2 separate regions of the Homo sapiens genome follow, and region 1 is linked to region 2. Evidence: promoter capture Hi-C in human tissues and cell types (Jung and others, 2019). All regions are on one chromosome and are shown on one strand. Each heading gives the region's core, a stretch centred on a gene start or on the middle of the fragment in contact. The rest is flanking DNA. Distances are from core to core; before and after follow the strand shown.

Region 1 (6,488 bases), core at 2,493-4,992, 290 kb after region 2:
GGGTTGACATGTGACCCAAAATGGTCCAATTGGAGTGAATCTCAAAACAATTCCTTGGAATATTGGAGACAAGATGCTCTCTTCCTCTGGATTTGTGGTGTCTGAGAATGAGATCTCAGCAGCTATTTTTTCTACCGTAATGCAAATCTCCCCCAGAGGACAAGGACACAAAGAATGGCAGATCTGAGAAGACTAGAGAAATGAAGTCACAGCCAAGATCATATCATACACCTCTGGACCCATGCTACAACCCCCCTTACCTCTGAACATTTCTCTGTCTTTTTGTTGTTGTCAAGCCAGTCTGAGTTGGATTTTCTGTCAACAGCAACTGAAAACTTCCTTTTTTATTACTTGGCTGCATATATTTCTTCAACAAGCACCTATTAAGTGCCTACTTTGTATCAAGTACTGAGTTAGGTGTAGATATAGTGCTTCTCACAAAAGATACTGTAAAATGAGTCAGAGGAGGGATGAGTGGTTAATAGAGCTGGAAGCATTTAGACATGTCAACTGGCTCACTTTAAGAGAGTCCTGTGTAATTTTAAGGTAATATTTAAAGCATAGATATTTGCAATTTATTTGCAAATTATTAACTTTGCAAGTAAAAAAACAAATACAGTGATTTTAAGGTTATCCCTGGAAGAAGGACAACCTGACTGCCTTGCATTATGGTATCTGCTAATGTCATAATCTTTACCATTTTTACATACTACCTGTTCATTTTTATTTAATATTATTAAATTGATTCACTTACAGAACTTACATAGATGTATTTCAAGACAAAATTTCTATAATACCACTAAAATGGAAAACTAGTACCACTTTACATGAATAGAAGGCAATCATAAAATAAGTACAATGAAATTATAGAATGTTACTAAATACTGAGAATGGTGACCTGACAAATGCCCTGACCCTGTGGACTGCTGTGTCTTTTGCCAAAAGGGAAATTAGCAAGGGTCCAAAAGGTGTTAAAGACATGTTAGCACCCCAACTGAGACTTTCTCCTTGTTACGTTTGGAGGGACTAAAAGAACATTGAAAAAAGGGATCAATTTCTCACCAAGTATTTCACTGTTACTTAATGCTGCCTCTGCACACAGCTATATATTACCTCCTTTGCACAAAATGTACTGCCCTTACCAGTCTTTGAGAAACACTATTTTAACCAAATCTCATTTGATAGCTGAGCAAATCGAAGCCTGGAGAGATAATGGGACTCTCCTAAGGCTTCCTGATTTCCAGCCTGCTCAACTCCCCCGTATTCAATAATATTTTATTACTTTCATTGGATTTATTTTGTGATTACCTTCTAATTAAGGCAAGTGACTCTGGGTTTTTCTTATTTATGGTAATGATATCAAGTTTCCTTTTTAAGTAAGCTTTAGTTGCTTTTAAACCATCCCATTGTTGAGACCAATTTGAAATAAGGCCCTTAGCAATGCCAATGGCCCCGTGTTCCCACCACTGATATGGGAGTTGGGGCAGGGAAGTGCTGGGTAAAGAAGGGCAGGGTCCCTGGCAAAGGATTCACCCTTGGGCCTGTGCCCACGGACCTAGGTGAGGACAGCCACTCCTGTTTTCGTGCCCAAATGGTGCATTTTCTAAGACCACTCTAACCTGCCAAATGCCCCATCCTGTAACTATAAAAACCCCAAGACCCTAGCAGACACAGACACAAACAGCTGGAGGTTGAGAGGAACACACTGGCAGAAGCACACACCAGCAGACACCAGTAGACGCCGGCAGGCCATCTACGGTAGGACAATGCAGAATTCAGTTGGGGGCGGTTGGAGGGGAGTCCAGTTGCTGAGCATTCTGACTCCAGGGGAAGATCACCTTTCCACACCACCCGCTGCTGGCTCTCCATTCATCTGCTGAGAGCTACCTTCACCCAATAAAACCTTGCACCCATCATCCAAGCCCAAGTGTGATCTGATTCTTCCAGGACACTGGGGCAAGAACCTAGGGTAAAGAAAGCCCTCTGTCCCTGTGATAAGGCAGAGGGTCTAATTGAGCTGATTAACACAAGCTGCCTGTGGACAGCTACGCTGAAAGAGCACACTGTACCACACGCCCACTGGGGCTTCGGGAGCTATAAACATTCAACCCTAGATGCTGCTGTGGGGTCGGAGCCCGCGCTCCCCACGACCTGCTCATCTGCATGCTCCCTCTAGGGGTTTAAGCTGTGGGGCACTGAAGAAGAGAGCCACACCCCCATCGCACACCCCGAGAGGGGGATAAGGGAATTTTTCCTGTTTCACCACTACCACTTTACCCCCAGGCAAAGGCAGGCACAGGGATTTATACCATCCTCTACTGCCCCATGCTGGAATCCCTAGATATGCCCCATGATTCAAGTCCTTCCCTCCCCAAGCCTAGGGGAAAAAATAGAAGCTAGGATAAGTGATTCCTCTAAAGCAGGGTTTCTCAATCTCAACACGATTGACCTTTGAGACGAGATAATCTAGCTGCTCTGTAGATGTTGAGCAGCATCCCTGGCCTCTACTCATGAGATGCCAGTAACACACCCCCCACACACAAGTTGTAACAACCAGAAATTTCTCTAGACATTGTCAAGTGTCCCCTGGAAGCAAAGTCACCCCTGGTGAAAAACCATACGCTTACTCATGGCTGGCAGCTTCCTATCCCAGCCCTCCAAATTTTCACAATAAACTTTAAATACAGAGCAGTCCTTTGCCACTACAGTTGAGGTAATTTGAGATCACTTTTTTTTTTAAGACCAGAATATTTTCTAAGAAAAAAAGAAATAATATGAACTCTCCACCAGCCATAAAGTTTACTCTTTTTAGACAATTCATGTACACTCTCCCAGGTGAAGGAAGCTTAAGTGATAGCACCTTCAATGGGTCCCTTACATTTGCCCACTGCTGGGTCCTGTCTTAATATTACTGAGCAGAGCCAATATGTGGCACCTGCTGAAGTGGGCATTCCATTTTCTCATAACCCCTTGCACCTTGACTTTGGATATTTAAAACCAGGTGCATTTCCATGCCTCATTTTAATATTTGGGGTCCATGCACTGACTAAATGCTGTGCCTGAACAAGTTTGAGCGGGACTTAGTGCCCCAGAAAGCAAATGTGCCATTCTTAAAGGAATCGTTGATGTTAAAAAGTCAAGTAAAAGGGATAGCATCAATGAATGAATGAATGAAAATGTGTATTTTTTTTTTTCTTTTTTTGAGACAGAGTCTCACTCTGTCACCCAGGCTGGAGTGCCGTGGCACGATCTCGGCTCACTGCAAGCTCTGCCTCCCAGGTTCACGCCATTCTCCTGCCTCAGCCTCTCGAGTAGCTGGGACTAATTTTTTTGTATTTTTAGTAGAGACAGGGTTTCACCTGTGTTAGCCAGGATGGTCTCGATCTCCTGACCTCGTGATCCGCCTGCCTCGGCCTCCCAAAGTGCTGGGATTACAGGCTTGAGCCACCACACCCGGACAACGTTTGTGTATTTATCCATTTATCCATGTAATACGAAATTATAGTAAAATGCTAATGTCATAGTTCGGGTTCCTTTAAAAACAGACTCTGAGACAAGGATTTGGGTTCAAAGAGTTTTTTTGGGAGTGATCCCAGGAAGCATTGTGAAGAAGTGGGGAAGTCAGACAGAGAAGGGAAGATGGCAATCCAGGATATCTTAATGAGCTGGTCACTCTCCATGGACTGTTGGGGTTTAATCCTTCACGATACTTCTAGTAGATAATGTAGAATATGCTTCAGAATTGTCCCTCCAAGGATCAAGGAAGCTGGGGTATTTGTCCTCACGGGTTGAGGAACACTCATGAAGTGTCACTCCTCCGGTGCTTTCTACCTGCTCTGAGAGGTATCAAGCACACTACCATGGCCCATGGACACCCTCAGGCTGAGAGATACTGGAAAGCATCACAGCCTACTGGAAGTCATCAGAGCATCCAAGAACTGCGGCAGACAACTGAGGCCTAGGGAGTGCAGGTTGAGTACCAACTGCACCTCCCAACGGCATCTGCCTGGAGTAGGCACATGTGGCTGCAAAAACATTGGGGGGATGAAGGAAAGCTCCCACCCCCTAGTTTAGGCTGCAGGTCTCTGGAATTATTTTAACAGCCTTCTAATAGTCTTCCTGTTCCCCTTTGTCTGCTCTCCACTTGGCAGCCAAAGTGAGCTTCCTGAAACACAAATCTGATTATTTCACCCTTAAAACTCCTCAGTGCCTGCAAGATAAAGTCCAAACCTTTCAACGCTCTAACTTTACTTACCTCTGTGGACTTATTTCTCAGCATTCCCATGCCTTCTCAGCTGAACCTGAAGTTCCCAAACAGAGCACCAACTAACTCTCAGAACTATGCCAAACATGGGGGATGAGAAGACAATATGATACGATACACTCCCTGCCTTCAGTGATGTCATTGAGACCTATGATGTGGTCTATCAGGGTCAGGGGGTGGAGGGTGTGCAGGAAGAACAAGATGGAAACGAAGAATTCCAGTCCTGCATATACCCAGGAAGCTACCATGGAAGGCACACATTACATAGATGTCATCCATATACAGAGATTTGGTTATTTTAAGATTAACCCTTTCTTGTCTGGAGTTAGCTAAGAGAAAGTCAGGGATGGGAGACAAGGCTGCTAAGTTTGGAAAAAGAATGTCTCCCTGATGTGTGCAACAGGTAGCACAGGACACTGGGAACAGGGGGATGTACTGGAGGGAACCAAGAGGGAAAAATCGGAGTTGCAGGGCTATGTGTTTTTCTCAGCAGCCTTTACAGCCCCAGATGACAGCCTCTGCAGTCATTGTCTATGGCCCCTCTACAGCCCTCTTGGAACCTTCAGAGCTCAGCAGATGCATAGACCTTCAGCTGATTAGCCTCAGAGGTGACTGGGCGGCTCCAAGAGGCTAGAAGCAAAGAAAGAGCAGCGAGTGTGGAGGTGGATGGGTCTAATTATGCAGGAGCCATTTTCTGTTTACATAAAAATACCTTGAGTAATCAGTGGTGATGAGCAAGAGGAGGAAAGAGCCTGCCTGAGAGTCTGAGGATGTTATGATCAATTAAATACCATCTTTCCAAATGTTTGCAGAGGGGAATTTTAAGATGGAACTGATTTTAATTTGACAAAGAAAACCTGAAGCGCTTTTCCTTGGGGCTCCAAAATGCATGCATATTGGCCTAGCCTGTGTCACTTGCTTCACTAAGAGTATATATTCCCTTCATGTTATTACTCCTGTATTTTCAGGATGAGTAAACAAAGCAGAAGAAATTCTCTTTATATGTTAAGTGCCTACTCTGTGCCAAGTGTTTTGCAAATATTATTTATAAACATTGAAAACCCCATAAAGGTGGGTGTTACTATTAACTCCACTTTGTGAGCAAGGAAACTGAGACATCAAGAGGGGAAGCGACTTGCAAAATGGAGGTCTAGAGTCAGTTTCACAGCTATGTAAAGTTGGTATGACTTCCATGTATCTATTTCCAAAGTCAGAGGCAGGGATGGGGATCACTACTATCCCACAGGACAGAAGCAGAGCTTGGAGCAAGGCTAAGAAGGTCCTGGACTCTGCCTCCAACTTCACTGTAAGGTTAGGCTGGACTAGATGATTAAAAGCCCCTCAAAACTACTGCAATCTTTGCTTGTCGGTGGGTTTGGACATGGCCTCGTTGCTTATGAGAAGTAGACACTCCTGGCAATAGAGCAAGGTGGAGAGTATGTGCATTTTGGAATCAGACAGGTCCCACTTGCAAGCTGGGTGGCCTTGAGCAAGTTGTTCAACCTCTCTGAGCTCCAATTTTCACACATATGAATGAGAGGTATTTTTTTTTTCTGAATAATTAGTGCAAGATTCAGTGTGATGATGTCCATTAAGTGTCTGGCACAGAGTGGGTATTTATCAAAGTTATGCACCTTCCTGTTTCCTCCATCATTCTTTCCAGGTCAACCCCATGCTTGAAGTCCTAATCATGCAGTAATACCTGCCTCATGGAGCTGCACTGTGTTCAGAATGGGTGCAGGTCTGTGAGCCTAGCACAGACACATACAGAGCTCATAGAGCACAATGAATAGTAACACCTATAATAAGAATTATTCTAATTATCATTGTTTAAAAATATACCCCTATCATCCAAAGATAATCCCTGTTAACATTTTCCAATATACCCTTGCAGATATACTGAGTGAGAGATACCATGTTACACATATTCTCTTCCTTACTTCACCCACTTAATTTGCATTGTGAATTTTTTCCTGTGTATAAATATGCAGCTACATCATTGCTTTAAGAAATTCTGGCTGGGCACGGTGGCTCACACCTGTAATCCCAGCACTTTGGGAGGCTGAGGTGGGCGGATCATTTGAAGTCAGGAGTTCGAGACCATCCTGGCCAACATGGCAAAACCCCGTCTCTACTAAATACAAAAAAATTAGCCAGGTATGGTGGCACATGCCTGTAATCCCAGCTACTTGGGAGGCTGAGGCAGGAGAATCTCTTGAACCCG
Region 2 (5,779 bases), core at 1,952-4,451:
GACATAGGCAAGTGAAATCCCTCCTCCAACATTACACAGCTAGGAAATGGCAGAGCTGGAATTTGAAGCCAGGCATTCTGGATTCCAAGTCCTGAACTGATTACTGCAGACTCCCAATTTAGGAACCTCAACACCAGGTGCTTCTAAGTATGTGACTCATTGTTATCTGATTTATTTTTAAATGGTGGTCCATCCTGATATGCGTAGTATCCCACTCCATCCTCCACCCCACCAAGCAAAAACAGAAACTGTATTTTTCACAAATTTCCTTTGCTTCCTACAGGATCACCCTGGGGAAGTCACTTGGTCATCCTCAACTTCTTCATGTTTAAAACAGAGTAAGATCGAATAGCAGGTCTACGTTTTTTAACTTTTATTTTAAGTTCAGGGGTACAAGCGCAGGTTTGTTACATAGGTAGACTTGTGTCACGGGGGTTCGTCGAACAGATTATTTCATCACCCAGGTATTTAGCCTAGTACCCATTAGTTATTTCTCCTGATCCTCTCCCTCCTCCCAACTTCCACCCTCCAAAAGGCCCCAGTGTGTGTTATTCCCATCTATATGCCCATGTGTTCTCATCATTTAGCTCCCATTTATAAGTGAGAACATGTGGTATCAGGTTTTCTGTTCCTATGTTAGTTTGCTAAGGATAATGACCTCCAGCTCCACTCATGTCCCTGCAAAGGACATGATATTCTTTTCATGGCTGCGTAGTATTCCATGGTGTATATGTACCACAACTTCTTTATCCAGTCTATCACTGATGGGCATTTAGGTTGATTCCATGTCTTTGCTATTGTGAGTAGTGCTGCAGTGAACATACACATGCATGTGTCTTTATAAAAGAATGAGCAGGTCTACTTTTAGTTCTTTGAGAAATCTTCATACTGTTTTCCATAGTTGTTGTACCAATTTACATCCACACCAACAGTGTATAACTGTTCCCTTTTCACTGCATCTACACCATCTATTTTTTTTTTTTACTTTTTAATAATGGCCTTTTGGGGGTAAGGTACTATTCGGGTGACAGGTATGTAAAAGCCCAGACTTCATCACTATACAATTCATCCATGTAACCAAAAAACACTTGCACCCTTAAAGCTATTGAAATAAGATAAATAAATAAAATAGAATAAGATCAGCTTTCTCTCCCACCTCATCTGGCTACGATGGGATTTTAAAAAGGCAATGTTTTGCATATGGGAGCTCTATCAACATTTTAGGGATTAGGAGCAGGCACACAACTGGAAGATGTTGACTGATCTTGTGGGGGTAGGATCCCACCTACCTCTCTCCTGCAAGTGACTCAGTTCATACCCTAAATGTCATGACTAAGGTTAGTTTTAAAGATGCCAGTCTGCTACCTATAAGAAGCCAGCTCTAGATTGCATTTACAATGATACCAACTTCTGGGTGGGAAACGGGGGTCTAGCCCAATCAGGGAATGGGGGATTTGGGGCGCAAGGTAAGAGGGAGAGGAAGGGAAGGGGTTAGCCTAGTCTCCACTTTGCTCCATCTCCAACCTTCCCAGGCCTGACCCCCACCTCTGGGCCCTCTCCCCCGGCAACCCACATAAGAAGCCAGCAAATGCACCTCTCGTTGTTGACCAGAAGGGGTCACTGCAGAGCAAGTAGCGCTCTCAGGCACTCAAATAAGCGGACGCAGGCGTGTCGAACACACACACTTCAAACGTAGATACCCTTTGGGGCGGGTACTCATTTACTCCAAGGTTCTTTCTTCTCCTGCCCCATCTTATCCTCTCTGTTGGCCTCTTCATCTTCACCTCCTAGTTACCTCCTGTTCCCCTTCAGAGAATTTCTGGAGTTCCCATTGTTCTCCCGACCCCCCCGCCCTACCCCGCCCTCATTGGGTCCCCATTGCTATCTGCTTTAGCAAAGAGCAGGAGTTTATTCTCGCTGTGACTGGGACTCAGCACCAGGTGCTTGGAGGCATTTAAGACTGAGCGAGGCCTCCTTCCAGGAATTTACAGCCTGGAAAGTGGAAGCGGGGTTGGGGGGAGGGGGAGGGCGTTAGGTGGGAGATGGGGGAGTAACAACTCTGCTAAGATTAAAAGGCTTCCAGGAAGGCAAGGGCTGAGGGGTCCCGCCACGATCTCTTTTTTTTATAATGAAAACCCTGGGGGAAAACAAGAGTCATTCTAACCAGATCTTCTGTGTCTGGGGTTGATTTGGGATTCTAAACCTCCACTTGCTTGGGATTACGATTGAACTGCGAGGCGGTAAGGAGATGGGGAGGAGAGACCGAAAAGTAACTATCCCCCTGCTAATCCTCGAGATTTTCCTCTCCAACCCTCCCACTAAGCGCTTTCTTTTCCAAAACGTACTCCTTTCCCGAGACTAGCGGCATTAGGAAAAGTGGCTGCAGGCGGATTCCCCAGGAGTGGATGGGGGTGGGGTGGGGTGAGATGGGAACTCTTTCCTCTGGACGGGGTTGGCGGCGGGGACGCTGGGCAGGCCGGCTGTGAGACACAAAAGAGATACCCTTGACAGCTCCGCATGCACAGATGTAACGCTGCGCCCCTTGGCGGGCGGGGGCCCTGCTCGGCAGATGGCGAGAAGCCGAATTGGTGAGGGATTGTCTATCAAATGGCACTTTCTGGGTGGTGGAGACCTCGCTAACCCCCGGCGCAAAGAGGAACGCAGGGCACCCTCTGTACCGGCCTAGGCCGTGTCTCCCAAAAGTGAGGGTCTGGGGGAGGCCGGCTGGGGTGGATAGATTAAGTTTTTTACGAGCCCCCCCAACCCCCCCCCCCCCCCCACGCAGAAGATCAGCTACAAGACTTGCGAAGGGGCTGGAAAGAAAGGTGGCCTGGCCCAAAGGGGGCACCCAGGAAAGGGCTGAGGAAGGCCAGCGATGATGGGAGAGGAGAGGGGCCTGGGAAGCAGGATCTCCTGCCTGGCGCAGATTGGGGTGCCAGGATGGCTTCTCAGAGGGATCAGCGCTGCAACTCGGTCGCCGCGGGGCCCTGGTGACAGGCGCACGCCCCGCCCTTTCTCCTCCCAAGACCTGCGGGCTTTTGTTATGCAGATGGCGGCAGGAGGCTGAGCCTGAGGAGGAGGGGGTTGGTGGGGAGGAGGAGAGACGGAGAGGGGGGAGGAAAGTGCAGCTCGCGCGACCAGCCTCCTCTTCCAACGTCACATTGTGCGAGAGACAAAACCCGGGCGCGCCGGAGCTCACACGCGCACGCACACACATCCGACCCCGTCGCCTCTTCTCTCCTGGTGCTGCCCAGAAAGCCAGCCCTCCCTTCCCTTCTTGGGGCGCAGAGGCTCAGCCAGCTCAGAGCGCAGCCTGGAGCCGACCCAGAAGGGCGAAGAAAGCCCAGCGGACGAGCCTCCTTTCTCTGCTGCCTGCCCGGGCTGGGGCGTCCCATCCCCCGCCCTGAACTCCGATCTCTCCCACCCCACCCCTCTCTGGGTTTCACCCGGACAGAGCCGGGAGCTGGGTGTCGCCCCCGTTTGGAATCCACGTTTCAGCACTTTGGACAGCGCCCCGGACGCCCCGGCCCCTTTGGGTTGGCGATGGCGAGCGTTCAGCAAGGCGAGAAGCAGCTTTTTGAGAAGTTCTGGCGAGGAACCTTCAAAGCGGTGGCCACCCCCCGTCCCGAGAGCATCATTGTCGCCAGTATCACGGCCCGCAAGCCGCTGCCAAGGTAATGATCTCCTTCTTAGAAGGGGGGATCCTGAAGGTCCTCCTTTCTGGCCTGTGCCCCAGAGCCCGGAGGGGTGGATGCAGGCAGCCGGGCCAGGGCGCCTGTCTTTTCCCGTCACTACTCGGCGGCTCCCGCTGAAACATGGGAACTCATTGCTTGTGTGAGGTGGAAGATGGTGAGAAGGGACAGGAATTCTTTGGGGGAAAGCAACGCTTATTGGACCCCCGTAGCTCCTATTCAAGAGGTTTTGCTACCTGAGGGTGGGCGGTGCAGATGGGGTACGACTTGACTGAAAAACTTTTCTTGGTGTCACAGAGTCCAGAGGGCAGGTGGGCCAAGGAATGGTGGATTTGAGATGTTTGGGGGGTGTTGTACCAGAAAAGGAGAACTGAGCCAGCTCAAGCAGCGTTCAGAGATAGCACACATTTCCATCCTCGGCTCGGAAACTAGCGAGCTTTGAACATTTTTGACAAAAGCCCATATGCTGTTCCCTCAAATACACCCAAAACAGCACCCTCCTCCACGCCTTTCTGGCGGCTGCTGCCGCTGCTGCTGAATTCTCTCCTCTCCAGCATCCAAAACCAAGACTCTGAGCTCAGGAGTCAGGGAGGAGCCTTCCAAGATCGTGAAGATGATCTTGGAAGAGTTTTATTTTGTTTTTTTTTGTTTTTTTTTTTTTTTTCCAAAAAGAATCTGATTGCTTTGAACTCAGGGATGAGAACCGATCCTTGGATGGTGGTAGACATGGTGCTGATGGAAGGAAGAATAAGGGAAGAAATGAAAGAAACAGGGGAACAGGAGGTGGGGTGAGAGGGAGAGGAGGTTGGGGGAAAATGGAAGCATTCCAAGACAGAGAAAAATCCAATTCTTTTCATAAATCATTCAATTTAGAGGAGTTTAAGAATGAAGGGAAGAAGGCTGTGCTCTCTGTCAGGGAAAATCAAGGTAGTATGAAAACTCATCTTTTGCTGGTGTTGGATGAGTGGTTTAGTAGGAGAAAAGAAAGAAGTGGACCAGGGGGACCACTTGGAGGATTTATTAATCCTGGCAGTCTGCATTAGGGAGCAGATTGAAAACATGTCTGCAAAAGTGCTTAGGACAGACTGAACGTCTGTTCTGGCACAACTGATTCTGAACTTTCCAGTGAGTGTGAGGTGGAAGACGTATGGGAAATTATGTCTGAAGAATCAAAGCCAGATTGGAGAAGTTTTCCTCTTCACTGTCTTATTGAGGATCATACAGGTCTTTAGAGAAATAGGTGTCCCATTTAGGAATGGGTGGCCAAGCATCACAACAGGCCAGTAGGGTGTAGCAGGCTTCAAGCTAAAGCAGCACCAGCCAGTGTTTGCAGACGGGAAGGAGGGGACACCCACCCACCCACTGACACAGGCTGGAGAAGGGGAACAATAATACCAAATGCCATTAAAGGCTGATGCTTCTCTGCTCCGAAGGAGGTTCTGTGTATAGAGTTTTGACGTCAGTGGTTTTTATCTTCCTGGGTTTCTGCTATCTATTCCACCTTTGGAACGTACCTACTGTTGGCTAATCAGGTGCTGCACTGGCCAAAGAAAATGCCCTTGTAGAAGGAACTAGAGGAAATTTCACAGGAAACTAGAAGTATGGCATTTAGTCCAGAGTCTTCCATCTATTTTAGGGGTGCAGGGAGAGGAAAGCGGATTCTTGGTGGTGTTTTGATTCAGGAAAGCACACCTATTATCTGCCTTGCTTGGTACTTTCCACTTTTGTCTGTCTCTCTGTTACTGTCCTGCCCTTTTCTTGGTCATATTTGCAATCACATGAATGGCCCACAAGGTCTTTCAACCCTCATCCTTTCTGCAGCTTTTTGCTAATTCTAATGTAATCCTGAGACTTTTATAATACTCCACTCCCCCTCTGCAACCAGTATCATTTCACTCTTGGTGCCTTTTAATGTCGTGGGTCTCCTTTGCCCTAGAAACCACCCCTGAGGTGAAAGCCTGAACCATAAGCCCTGGATTTATGTCACGCTAGGAGAATCCTGTGTAATACTTCTGTAATAGGCGTGGCCTCTCTGTAGAACAGATTCCGGTTTTATAACTGTTACTCCTGGTTTGGGGTAGAGAGTG

What was found. The method cuts DNA at HindIII sites, captures the fragments that hold promoters and counts their contacts. A contact is called where the count stands out against the background at its distance.
Region 1: a contact is called between a fragment that was not itself captured here and the fragment with the promoter of SRRM4 in region 2, in 1 of the 25 tissues and cell types used here (hippocampus).

The regions. Positions count from the first base shown.
Region 1 is chr12:119,272,561-119,279,048 of GRCh38, forward strand. No RefSeq gene overlaps it. Among named protein-coding and RNA genes, the nearest start is that of LINC00934, 28 kb to the right of the region's middle. The HindIII fragment of the contact is 3,258 bases long and covers 2,114-5,371 here.
Region 2 is chr12:118,978,340-118,984,118 of GRCh38, forward strand. It overlaps SRRM4 (serine/arginine repetitive matrix 4), which reads left to right and starts at 3,202. Exons shown (of 13, transcript NM_194286.4): 1 at 3,202-3,674. The coding sequence starts at 3,544. The HindIII fragment of the contact is 17,491 bases long and covers 1-5,779 here.